Regions from separate parts of the Homo sapiens genome. Here all the other regions are linked to region 3. The links are contacts of gene promoters, found by promoter capture Hi-C in human tissues and cell types (Jung and others, 2019). All regions are on one chromosome and are shown on one strand. Each heading gives the region's core, a stretch centred on a gene start or on the middle of the fragment in contact. The rest is flanking DNA. Distances are from core to core; before and after follow the strand shown.

Region 1 (3,766 bases), core at 1,123-3,622, 730 kb after region 3:
TGGCATGCTGCTGTGGCTTGTTAGGGAGCTGGAACTTAAAGATTGAAAGACTGAAGTAGTTCGAATCCCATCAGTAGATGGTAGCAGAGAACCATGTCCCAGGAGGGAGTCTGAACAACACCACTTGGGCAGTCCAAGAGCAGGGTCCTTGGCATATCTTAAAACCCTGGAGGTCAGACCATGGAGTTCTAGAGACTGGCAATACCAAGCCAAAGTTGGGGTTGGCTCCTGAGAGTGCAGGGGAATGCTGTCACATAAGGCAAGACACTGCACGCAGCCTGGTTTTGTCTAGGCACCACACACATCCTCCTCCCTTAATGATGTCATTCATGTTCAAAGCTTTAACTACTTCCAGTTGTGTACCAATGACTCCTAAATTCACATTTCTAGCTCAGACCTTTTTCAACCTCTGTACTTCACACTCATACCCACCTGCCTGCTGGCCTTCTCTTCTCTTCTCTTTTTGTGATGGAGTCTCGCTCTGTTGCCCAGACTGGAGTGCAGTGGCGCAATCTCGGTTCACTGCAACCTCCGCCTCCCGGGTTCAAGTGATTCTCCTGCCTCAGCCTCCCAAGTAGCTGGAATTACAGGCGTGTGCCACCATGCCCGGCTAAGTTTTATATTTTTAGTAGAGACGGGGTTTCACCATGTTGGTCAGGCTGGTCTTGAACTCCTGACCTCAGGTGATCTGCCCTGCTTGGCCTCCCAAAGTGCTGAGATTACAGGAGTGAGCCACCGTGCTTGGCCCCTGCTGGTCATTTCTAACTGAGTGTTTCCACAGACAGCAAAACTGAACTTTGGGAATTATCCTAGTCTTTTCCTTTTCCCTTAGACTCCATCTTCAAATAGGCACCAATAACTCTATTTCCTATCTTCTAAATATTCCCCAAATGCATTCTCTCCTCTCCCTTCCAATTTTATTCAAGTTCTCATCATCTTCAGCCTTTGTGTAATAACTTTGCCCCTCTACTTCCATCCACAGCATTTTAATCCATTCACCCATTCTTTCATGGATTTATGTAACTTATACTTTTACAATGAGCCTAATCTGATGCTTTTACTGACCCGCTGTGCTAAGCTCTAGATTGAGTTGAGTCTAGGAGAGAGACCGATTAACCAACAATGGCAATACAAATAAATTGATGTTGTTCTGGGGTGAGTCTAGGATACGGTGGGGAGGGGGATATACCTAATTTATCCTGCAAGGATGTAGTCCTCCTTCCTGACCCAATCAGGATCTTTCTAAAGTGCAAGCCCAACAACTGGCACTTTGTGGCTTAAAAACATTCCATGACTCAGTCTAAAGGATTAAGTCCAAATTTCTTGGCCCTGGCATTCAAGGCCTGTCATCATTTTCAACACAGCCTGAGGATTCCTGCCTTAACTTTCCGTGCTCCCTACTTTACCCCCATGTTCCAGAGACGCTAGATATATCACTCCTTAAATGCATCAGAGCCTTTTTGAAGGGGATGTTTGGGAAGGGAATTAGGGGCAGAGGTAGGATTACAGGGAGGAAGATGACCAGAGTCAGCTAGAGAGAAAAGGGGCCTAAGAGTGGAGAACCAGAAGATGGGAGGTGAGGAAGGGGAAAGAGAAGGGGAGGAGGAAATTGGGTGGAGGAGGAGAGTAAGGATGAAAAGTACAGAATGTGGGCCAGGCATGGTGGCTCATGCCAGTAATCCCAGAATTTGGGAGGCCAAGGCGGGTGGATCACTTGAGGTCAGGAGTTCGAGACCAGCCTGGCCAACATGGTGAAACCCAGTCTCTACTAAAAATACAAAAATTAGCTGGGCATGGTGGCAGGCGCCTGTAGTCCCAGCTACTGGGGAGGCTGAAGCAAGCAAATCACTTGAACCTGGGAGGCGGAGGTTGCAGTGAGCCCAGATCGCACCACTGCACTCCAGCCTGGGGGACAGAGCGAGACTCTGTCTCAAACAACAACAACAACAACAACAACAACAACAACAACAACAACTACTACTACTACTACTACTACTACTACTACTACTACTACTACTACAACAATGTGAAGGGACTGAGGGGTGGGAGAAAGACAGATGTCTTTGAGGGAAGAGGGCAAGGGCCGTTGGAGAAACCACCTACCCTCTGGGCTTTGGCTTGGTTGTTACAAGTCCTTAGGTCAAGACCTTGACTTAGGATGGCAGGGGGAGGTGTTGATCCTCAGGGAGGAAAGGCTCTTGGTTGTGGATGTGCCTCAGCTGCAGGTGCTGAGTGTTGAAATGCCTTGCCTGAAAGTCTGCTATCTGGGAAGGGGACTTGGATATCTGCAGAACTTCGCAAAGGAGCTCTGGCATGACCTGGGGAAGTGGGTAGGGACAAGGGGTCTAGGGCCAATGAGGGAGGGTCTTGACTGAAGCCTCCGGAACCCGGGCCAGGAGAGTAGGCGCCGGTCACCAGGGCAACCGGAACGCCTAGTAGTCTCCGTGGCAACGGCGGTCTGGTCACCTCCCCGGTGGGTAAGGTCTCCTGAGGGGCTTGCATTGGGCCTCGAGGGGGCGAGCCCAGAGGGTTTACTTCTGAAAAGTGGGGTGTGTGTTGCGGGATCTCTGTGAGCGAGTGTTTGGGTAGGATCTGCGGAGATCTGTGCGTACGTCCGGGGGAGTCTGGGATTGTGAGGATAGGGTTCCTTTGAGACATCTGTGGGGCGGTCGTTGGGGGCTGTGAGGATCTGAGGGGACCTCGGGCTCTGTGCTTGGGGTGAGAAAGGCAGGGTCTCGGGTAGCTGAGGCGGGGGCGGAGTCTGTGTGTCCTCGAAGCCCAGCAGGACTAAGTTGGGGACCAATAGAGTAGGGCGGGGGCGGGCTTTACTGACAGGGACCAATCGAGCCGGCCGGGGGGCGGGGCGTCACGCCGACGTCAAGTCGAGGCCGCCGCCGCGGGGCCTGGTTATCGCCGGTTCAGCGCAGCCCGGAGTCGCCCAGGCCTGAACTCCTACCCAGGTCCCCGGCCCCCGCCCCGGGCCCGCGAGGACACCGGAGGCCACCCCCCGGGGGTGGGGAGCGGAGCCGCGGGCCAGCTCTGCGAGCGCCCCGCGCTGGCCTGTCCGGCCCCGCCCCCGCCCCGGGCCATGGCCCAGCCCTTGTCCCGGCCCCTCGTCCTATCCCAATCCCCGCCTTGGCCCCCAGCCCCGCCCTCGCCCCGCTTCCCACATCGGCCCCAGCCCCTGCCTGGGTCCCCATCCAGGACCCCCTTCCAGTCTCTGCCCCTGGCCTGGCCCCCATCCCGGCCTCGGCCCTCGTTCCACCCCCTGTCACAAATCCCAGCCCAGGCCCTGTCCCAGCCCCATTCCCAGTGTTTGCTTAAGGCCCTGGCTCAACCCCGTCCCTTGCTGCAGTCCCCATCACAGCCCTTCCTTCCATCCCACTCCCTGCCCTTGTTCAAGCCCCAGTGTCCAGCCCAGCCCAACCCATTATCTCAGCCTTTGCCCTCATCTCTGTGTTTACCCAAGTCTCTCCCTCTAGTCCCCCCTATCTCTCATACTCTGCCCCTCTCCCAGCCTAGACTCAAGTCTGGGTTTCAGCTGCCGCCAGCCCTATTGCTGCTGTTGCTGTTCTCTGTCCTTGGCCCAGGGGCTGGTGAGTGCAGAAGCAGGGAAGATTGAGGCAGGAATGGGGTTCCGGCAGGGAGGGGTGGGCTGGAGAGATTCAGGAGAGGTGGGACCTGGGGAACTAGATCATTGGGGAGCAAGTGGGAGAAATAGAGAGTAGAGAGGTCTTACACAACAGGGATTGGCAGGGTCAAAAGA
Region 2 (3,777 bases), core at 634-3,133, 770 kb after region 3:
ATCCTATTAGTTCTGTCCCTCTAAGAGAACCCTGACTAATACAGGCCTCATTGCTGCCTCTACTGTCACCTACCAGGGAAGCTGGGCCATTCTCGTCATCTGTGGACTCCGTCTCAGCTCTGCTCAGTTTTGGGAAGAACTCTAGGCTCTGCCATTGTCACCCCTACATTGACATGTTAATATCTCTATTTAAGAAACTTGTGCAGGGCCTAGAGTTGGGCAAGGCTGGACCTTGGGAGAGAGTAGAATCTGACACTCCCTGCTCTTGGAGTAATGCTGAAAACACAGAGGGGCACAGCAAGAGGAGCAAGGTGGGGTGGCTTCCTGGTGGAGGTGGCATTTGAGCTGGGCCTGAAGGGTCAGGCAGTCAGTCCTTTTACATATGGAGAAGTGTGCTGGGGATAGGGGAGGGGGTGCTGCCTCGTGGGGAGAAACAAGGAGAGCACAGAGCTGGGTGGTGCAGGGCATGTGGGGGCCACAACTGGCTGGTGTGTGTGGCTGTGAGGAGGGAGATGGGGTGGGAGGGGAGGAAGGCTGGGGAGCCAGTCAGGCAGGGCCAGCTTGTGAGGGCCTCAAATGCCCCACTGAAAAGCTTCCACTTTGTTCTGAGAACAGTGGGGAGCCACCTAGGGATTTCAGTGAGAAGAGTGATGCAATCACATGTGCATTTCAAAAAGATGCCCCATGAAGGAGAGATTGGAGGGAGGAACAGGACTGAAGTCTTGGGACCAGCCAGGAGGCTGGTGTGAAGGCCAGGGTGATGCTGAGAGCAGAGGGTGATTTGGGGGCTGTTCTGTGGCAGGATCAGCGGGACTTGGTGCTGCCTTGCTGGGATGAAGATACCAGACCTGTAGCCCCAGCCCTGCCATGTCTTCACTGGCATTGGCATACGATGGCCTCAGCTACTAACCTGAGACCTGCGTCTGTACAGAGCCCCGCCCTCCCTCACCTGGAGGCCCGACTCCTGCCCCACACCTTCCTGGCGGCCTCCTTCACCTCCTTGTTCCTCAGGCTGTAGATGGTGGGGTTCAGCATGGTCGTGACCATGGCATAGAGGACTGTGAAGACCTCATCAGAGATGTGGGCTTCCTTACTCTTGGGCTTCAAGTACATGAAGATGATGGTGCCGTAGAAAAGCAGCACTACAGCCAGGTGTGCCAAGCAGGTGGAGAAGGCTTTGCAGCACCTGGCGGCCGAGGGCACCCTCAGGATGGTGGCCAGGATGAGCAAGTAGGACAGGCAGATGAATGCCAGGGGTACAGGCAGCAGCAGGATGGAGCCCGCCAGCAGGAAGTCTTCGCTGACCGACGTGTTGCCGCATGCCAGCTTCAGCACTGCCAGGATCTTGCAGGTGAAGTGACTGACCACGTGGTGGCCACAGAAGGGCAGCCTCATGGAGATGACCATCTCAGTCACCGACTTGAGGAGGCAGAGGACCCAGGCAGCTCCCATCAGCAGCACGCAGAGCCGGTGGCTCATGAGCACGTGGTACCTGAGTGGCTGGCAGATGGCCAGGTAGCGGTCATAGGCCGTGATGGCCAGTAGCAGGCACTCCGTGGAGCCCGTGGACAGGCTCAGACACATCTGGATGGCACAGACAGCAAAGGAGATGGTCTTCCGGGATGACAGGAGGTGGACCAGCATCAGAGGCACAAAGGTGGGCGTGTAGCAGATGTCCAGGGTAGAGAGGTTGCCCAGGAAGAAGTACACGGGCGTGTGCAGGTGGATATCTAGCACGCTCACCGCCATGATGGCTGTGTTCCCCAGGAGGGTCACCAGGTACATGGCTGAGCACAGAGGGAAGAGCAGATGCTCCAGGGCTGGGTAGCCAGAAAATCCTTTCAGAAAGAACTCGGACACCTCTGTTCTGTTGAGCGGCTCCATGCTGCAGAGTTCTGAAGAGATGGTCCACAGCTGGGATGGAAGGAGAGAGGGTACAGGGTGCGGGGAAGCTCACAGAGCCCTTTCTGGGACGAGGTGGACTGTCAGGATCTTTTCCAGCACTGCCACACTCACTGTCTGTGACGTCGGGCAATCCCTTTATCCTCTCTAGGCCTCAGTTTATCCATGTGAAAAATGAGCATTGATTTAGATCAGCATTCCCTGAGAGAATGTTAATGAGAACATTAGTAAGCAATCTGAAAAATCAATTTGAGACAACATTGGATTAATAAAAAATAAAGCTCTTTACTGCAGGACTTCTCAGAGCGTTTACTACGCTAATGTGATCTATGACTCCTGCAAAGCAATGTAGAACATCTGTACCCCAAACTTATTTGATCATGGATCCCCTTTTACAGAAAACCCATTAACCTACTGCAGATAAGTGTTCTATGAGCATAGTCTGGGAAACAGTAGGCTAGATCAACAGTTCTCAAACTTTAACATGCACCAGAATCACCTGGAAAGTTTGTTAAAACAGATTGTTGGGCCCCAAACCCAGTTTCTGACTCGGTGCGTCTGGGCGATGCTTCTGCTGCTGATGTAGGTACCACACTTTGAGGAACTAGTGGGCTAGGTGGTCTCTGAGCAGGTGGAGATTCTCCTGGCTTTAAGGAAGCCTCTGAGCCATCGCATTTGCTATTCCTTCTGTCTGGAATGTCCTCGGCCTGCAGTGGTCTGACCTGTCTCTTCAGGCCTACTCTAGTATCCATGAACAAAGCATACACCGTGCTGTGTGTTGGAGGGCTGCTGACCTTGAAGCCTATCGCTGGGCATGTTCCCCTGTCCCCTGCCCAGGGCCTGTTTCATTAGCTACCCTGTGTGGATTGGACCTTCACAATCTGCCTTCCTGTGGGTTTCCCAGCTAAAATCTGATGGAGCTTTTGGCCCAGCTCCAAACCCCTATGTTCTGTGGGCCAGAGCGAGGGCTGCTTTGACTTCATGAACTCCTAGGGTATTAGCATGGAACATGACCAGAGGCCAACTTGTTGGATCTCCCATTGTATAGATGGGGATGCTGAGGTCACACAACAGGTCTCTGGTGAGGTGAAGCTAGAATCCAGCCCTCCCAACAGTGTGACCCCTATACCATGCTCAGAGCAGGTGTATGCTTCTATTAGGTTTCAAACAATGCTTGTTCTTTTACCATTCTAGATGGATATCAGTGCCCCAGGTGCTGCCACAATCCTCTCACCAGCAAAAGAGCATGAGTCACCTCTCCTTAGTGTTCCAGGGTATCTGGCACGGTGTCATTAATCCCATGGGACACGATGCCAAATCCTGGGCCTGGGTGGAGCACAGTTCCTCTCAGTGCCTTCCTTGCAGGAGACCATTTCCGTCTTTTATTCCACCCTCACTTACTCATCCCAGAACCTAGAAGTAACTGAGGACCTGCTACATGTCAGGTGGTGCCAGATGTGAGGGAGCACTGATGACAGGTGTGCTCCCAGGCTGCTGAGTGCAAACCCTTCCTAGGCAGAGAGGACCCCCAAGTCTTCCATACCCAGCCTCACCGTCCCCCCACTCTTCCGTACCCAGCCTCACCCACCCCTCCCACTCTCCCATACCCATCCTTGTCCTCCCCCACCCTCCCATACCCAGCCTCCCCCTCCCCTGACTCTTCCATACCCAGCCTCACCCACCCTTCCCACTCTCCCATACCCAGACTCACCCTCCCCCCACTCTCCCATACCCAGCCTCACCCACCCTTCCCACTCTCCCATACCCAGCCTCACCCTTCCCTCACTCTTCCATACCCAGCCTCACCCACCCTTCCCACTCTCCCACTTTTCCAAAAGTAACTATTGTTATTAGTTTTGTGTATATCTATCCAGA
Region 3 (3,663 bases), core at 1-2,500:
TATCAGCACCAACACAACCCGCGAAAATCGGGAAGCCATCCAGCAGGCCCCAGGTTTCCCTTGGCTCCCCCATGGCAGGGACCCAGGGCCTGGGGGCTCTTGGCAGCTGCTATGGTTGGTGAGCTCCAAACGGGTGAGCAGGAAGCCACTGGTGAAGAGGGCAATGCCAGCGTAGAAGAGGAAGCAGACCCAGGCCAGGAAGAGCAACACTGAGGCTTTCTGCATCCTGATAGGGGTGGGGAAGTAAATTCATTACTGTGGGGCAAAGAACCAGTGGATATTCTGGTCCCTGAATACAAGCCCAGCTAGAATCACTTCCTCCCGGAAACCTTCCTGGAGATAAACCATTTCACAGCCAACCCCTCGCAATATTACTCTCCTCCTATTTCCAGGCTGGGCATGGTGGCTCACGCCTGTAATCCCAGCACTTTGGGAGGCCGAGGCGGGCGGATCACCTGAGGTGAGGAGTTCGAGACCAGCCTGGCCAAAATGGCGAAACCCCGTCCCTACTAAAAATACAAAAATGGGTGGCGGGCACCTGTAGTCTCAGCTACTGGGGAGGCTGACGCAGGAGAATCGCTTGAATCGGGGAGGCGGAGGTTGCAGTGAGCCGAGATTGAACCACTGCACTAGAGTCTGGACAACAGAGGGAGACGCCGTTTCATGAGGTCCCACCCCAGATCTACTGAATCAGGATCTTCGAGGGGTAGAGCATAGGAACGTTCACATGTACAGGCAGGAAATGCTAATGCTGCCTGTACATGTGAACAGTCAGGAGGGAAACTTATTCCAATTGGTAGTCAGGCTCTCTTACACGCCGTTTCTGCGCCTCTCCCCTCGCCAATCTCAATACCCAGTGGAAAGGGATCGAAGCCGCAGGGGAATCCGGGCCCAGCCGACGGCGCCGCCTGGCGGGCACCGAGGGGACGAAGGGGAGGAGTCACTCTCCGCTTCCGGGCGGCCAGGTTCGCCAGGAGACCTGAGGCACGACCTTCGCCACGCAAGGAGGCTGGGGCCCGGGTCGAGAGTCGACTGGGCCTCCGCTGGGACCCAGGCGTGCGACCGGCTCTGCCTCCTCCGGTAACTACCCAGCCTCCCGCTGGGCACCCTAGCCGCGGTACTGAGCACCTTGGTTAGGAGCTGAGGGGAAGAGGGAGACTCCCTTACTTCAGGGTGAGGGGAATACCGGGGGGTGAGGTTCTCGGGAGACCCTGGCTCACCTGCAATGGCACCCGGAAGTGCGGCGGCGGCGGCGCCTGCGACCTGGCAGCACAGAGATGCGTGCGCCAGACAGAGTGGCCCGTCGGTGGCTCCATCGCCATCTGCCGGCACCTCGGTGGAAGTTTGGCCAGGAGCGTGGGGCTGGCCCCAGTTTGATGGGATATTTAGTAATTGAAAATTGGGGACAGGGGACCAAGCTGGAGGAAGAGTTCAGGGAACCACTGTCCATTCATGGTTACGACTAAGAGCACGGCTGCTGGAGTCAAACTTGACTTGAATCCTAGCTTGGCCGCACATATTGTCATCATTAGGCATTACCTCATCTGTAAAATGGAGATAATACTTATTTTCCCTTTTTTGCTTAGCTGAGTCCAACTGAGATTTCATTACTCCTCCTTTCAAAGCCTGTAACTAAATCTTACGACTGAATAATTAAGCAAATAATCCTTCGGAGTGGAGGAGGGGAGGCTGGGCCCAGTGGTTCACACCTGTAATCCCAGCACTTTGGGAGGTCAAGGCAGGTGGATCACCTAAGGTCAGGAGTTCAAGACCAGCCCGGCCAATATGACGAAACGCCGTCTCTACTGAAAATACAAAAGTTACCCGGGAGTGGTGGCGGGCGCCTGTGATCCCAGATACCTGGGAGGCTGAGGCAGGAGAATCACTCGAACCCAGGAGGCAGAGGTTGCAGTGAGCCGAGATTGCACCACTGCACTCCAGCCTGGGCAACAGAGCAAGACTCCCTCTCAAAAAAAAAAAAAAAAATGCCAGGCACGATGACTCACACCTGTAAGCCCAGCACTTTGGGAGGCTGAGGCTGGAGAATCAGTTGAAGTCAGGAATTGGAGACCAGCCTGGCCAACATGCTGAAACCCCAACTCTACTAAAAATTACAAAATTTAGCCAGGCGTGGCGATGTGTACCTGTAGTCCCAGCTACTGAGGAGGCTGAGACTGGACAATTGCTTGAAGCCAGGAGGCAGAGGCTACAGTGAGCTGAGATCGTGCTACTGCACTCCAGCCTAGGCAACAGAGCAAGACTCTGTCTCAAAAAGAAACAAAACCCGTCCACTGGTTTCTCATCTCAGAGTAAAAGTTCTTGCATTGGCTCTACATGGCCCTGCACACTATCTGCCTCTTCCCCTTCTGATTCATCTAGCTGCCACTTCTTTGCTTCCCTAACTCTGTTCCATCCACAGCAGTTCTGCCTCAGGACCTTTGCATTTGCCATCTCCTCTGTCAGCTTCAGTTCCCGATGCCGAAATGGATCTCCATCACCTTCATATTGAAGCTCAACTGTAACATCAGCAAGGCTTCCTGCAATCCCCTACTTTACTAGTTCAGCACCTCCCACCACCACACCCCCTGGAAAAATTTCCCCTCACTTCCTTAATTTCTTCCATAGCACAACTCATCAGCATCTGAAATTCTACACGTATTTATGGTTTATCCCCTCCGAGTAGAATGTGAGCTCATTGAGGTCAGGGAATTCTGTTTTCTTCATGATATCCTCAGCACCTAGCATATATTTGAGGTTCACATACTGACCAAACGAATAAAGGAATATGTTAATTTTTAAAAAAAGTTGAGTTATTCTTCCACCTTCATCCCCATAGCCCCTTATCTCAGTTCAGACCTCATCCCTTCTCCAGGATCACTGAGGCAGCCTTCTCACTGTCCTCCCAGCCTCCTGTGTCTCCCTACTATCCCTTCTCCACATTGCAGCAAGACAGCTCTAACTAAAACATTAATGTGATTACTGTTATTTTTTTCTTTTTTGTAGAGATAGGGTCTTACCATGTTGCCCAGGCTGGTCAACTCCTGGGCTCAAGTGATCCTCCCACCTCAGCCTCCCAAAGTGCTGGGATCACAGGTATGAGTCACTGTGCCTGGCCAATGTGATGTTTTATCTTAAAATTCTTCATGGGAAGGGAAAAAAACCCTTCATAGGCCGGGCACAGTGGCTCACGCCTGTAATCCCAGCACTTTGGGAGGCTCAGGCGGGCAGATCACGAGGTCTGGAGTTCGAGATCAGCCTGACCAACATGGTGAAACCCTGTCTCTACAAAAAACAAAAAAATTAGCCAGGTATGGTGGCGCATGCCTGTAATCCCAGCTACTAAGGAGGCTGAGGCAGGAGAATTGCTTGAACCCGGGAGGCGGAGGTTGCAGTGAGCCGAGATCATGCCATTGCACTCCAGCCTGGACAACAGAGGGAGACGCTGTCTCAAACAAACAAACAAAAAAACCCTATTACCCTAGGGATAATGTCCAACCCCTTCAACAAGAATCTCATTCCTTGTGACTTGGCCCTTGCCATGTAGTCACATCCCCCTTAACACTATACCCTTCAGCCAACTTCTCTCAAGCAGTGAGCCTTTGTTTATTCTAGTCCAGGACCTGACTTGGTGAAAACTTGCTAACTTTTCCAGCCTGAGTTCAG

Evidence for each region. Contacts are between HindIII fragments. The study calls those that stand out against the background at their distance.
Region 1: the fragment with the promoter of FAM221B here is called in contact with the fragment with the promoter of PIGO in region 3 in 1 of the 25 tissues and cell types used here (spleen).
Region 2: the fragment with the promoter of OR13J1 here is called in contact with the fragment with the promoter of PIGO in region 3 in 2 of the 25 tissues and cell types used here (small bowel and spleen).

Annotation. Positions count from the first base shown.
Region 1 is chr9:35,826,360-35,830,125 of GRCh38, forward strand. It overlaps FAM221B (family with sequence similarity 221 member B), which reads right to left and starts at 2,373. Exons shown (of 7, transcript NM_001012446.4): 1 at 2,104-2,373. It overlaps TMEM8B (transmembrane protein 8B), which reads left to right and starts at 2,869. Exons shown (of 13, transcript NM_001042590.4): 1 at 2,869-3,596. The coding sequence starts at 3,089. RefSeq lists enhancers at 1-97, 3,461-3,766 and a silencer at 2,726-3,175. The HindIII fragment of the contact is 23,285 bases long and covers 15-3,766 here.
Region 2 is chr9:35,868,518-35,872,294 of GRCh38, forward strand. It overlaps OR13J1 (olfactory receptor family 13 subfamily J member 1), which reads right to left and starts at 1,884. Exons shown (of 1, transcript NM_001004487.1): 1 at 946-1,884. The coding sequence starts at 1,884. The coding sequence ends at 946. The HindIII fragment of the contact is 8,885 bases long and covers 25-3,777 here.
Region 3 is chr9:35,095,341-35,099,003 of GRCh38, forward strand. PIGO (phosphatidylinositol glycan anchor biosynthesis class O) reads right to left here and starts at 1,251. Exons shown (of 11, transcript NM_032634.4): 1 at 815-1,251; 2 at 1-226. The coding sequence starts at 225. PIGO-AS1 (PIGO antisense RNA 1) reads left to right here and starts at 964. Exons shown (of 2, transcript NR_186491.1): 1 at 964-1,080; 2 at 2,420-2,804. RefSeq lists an enhancer at 918-1,257. The HindIII fragment of the contact is 8,015 bases long and covers 1-2,976 here.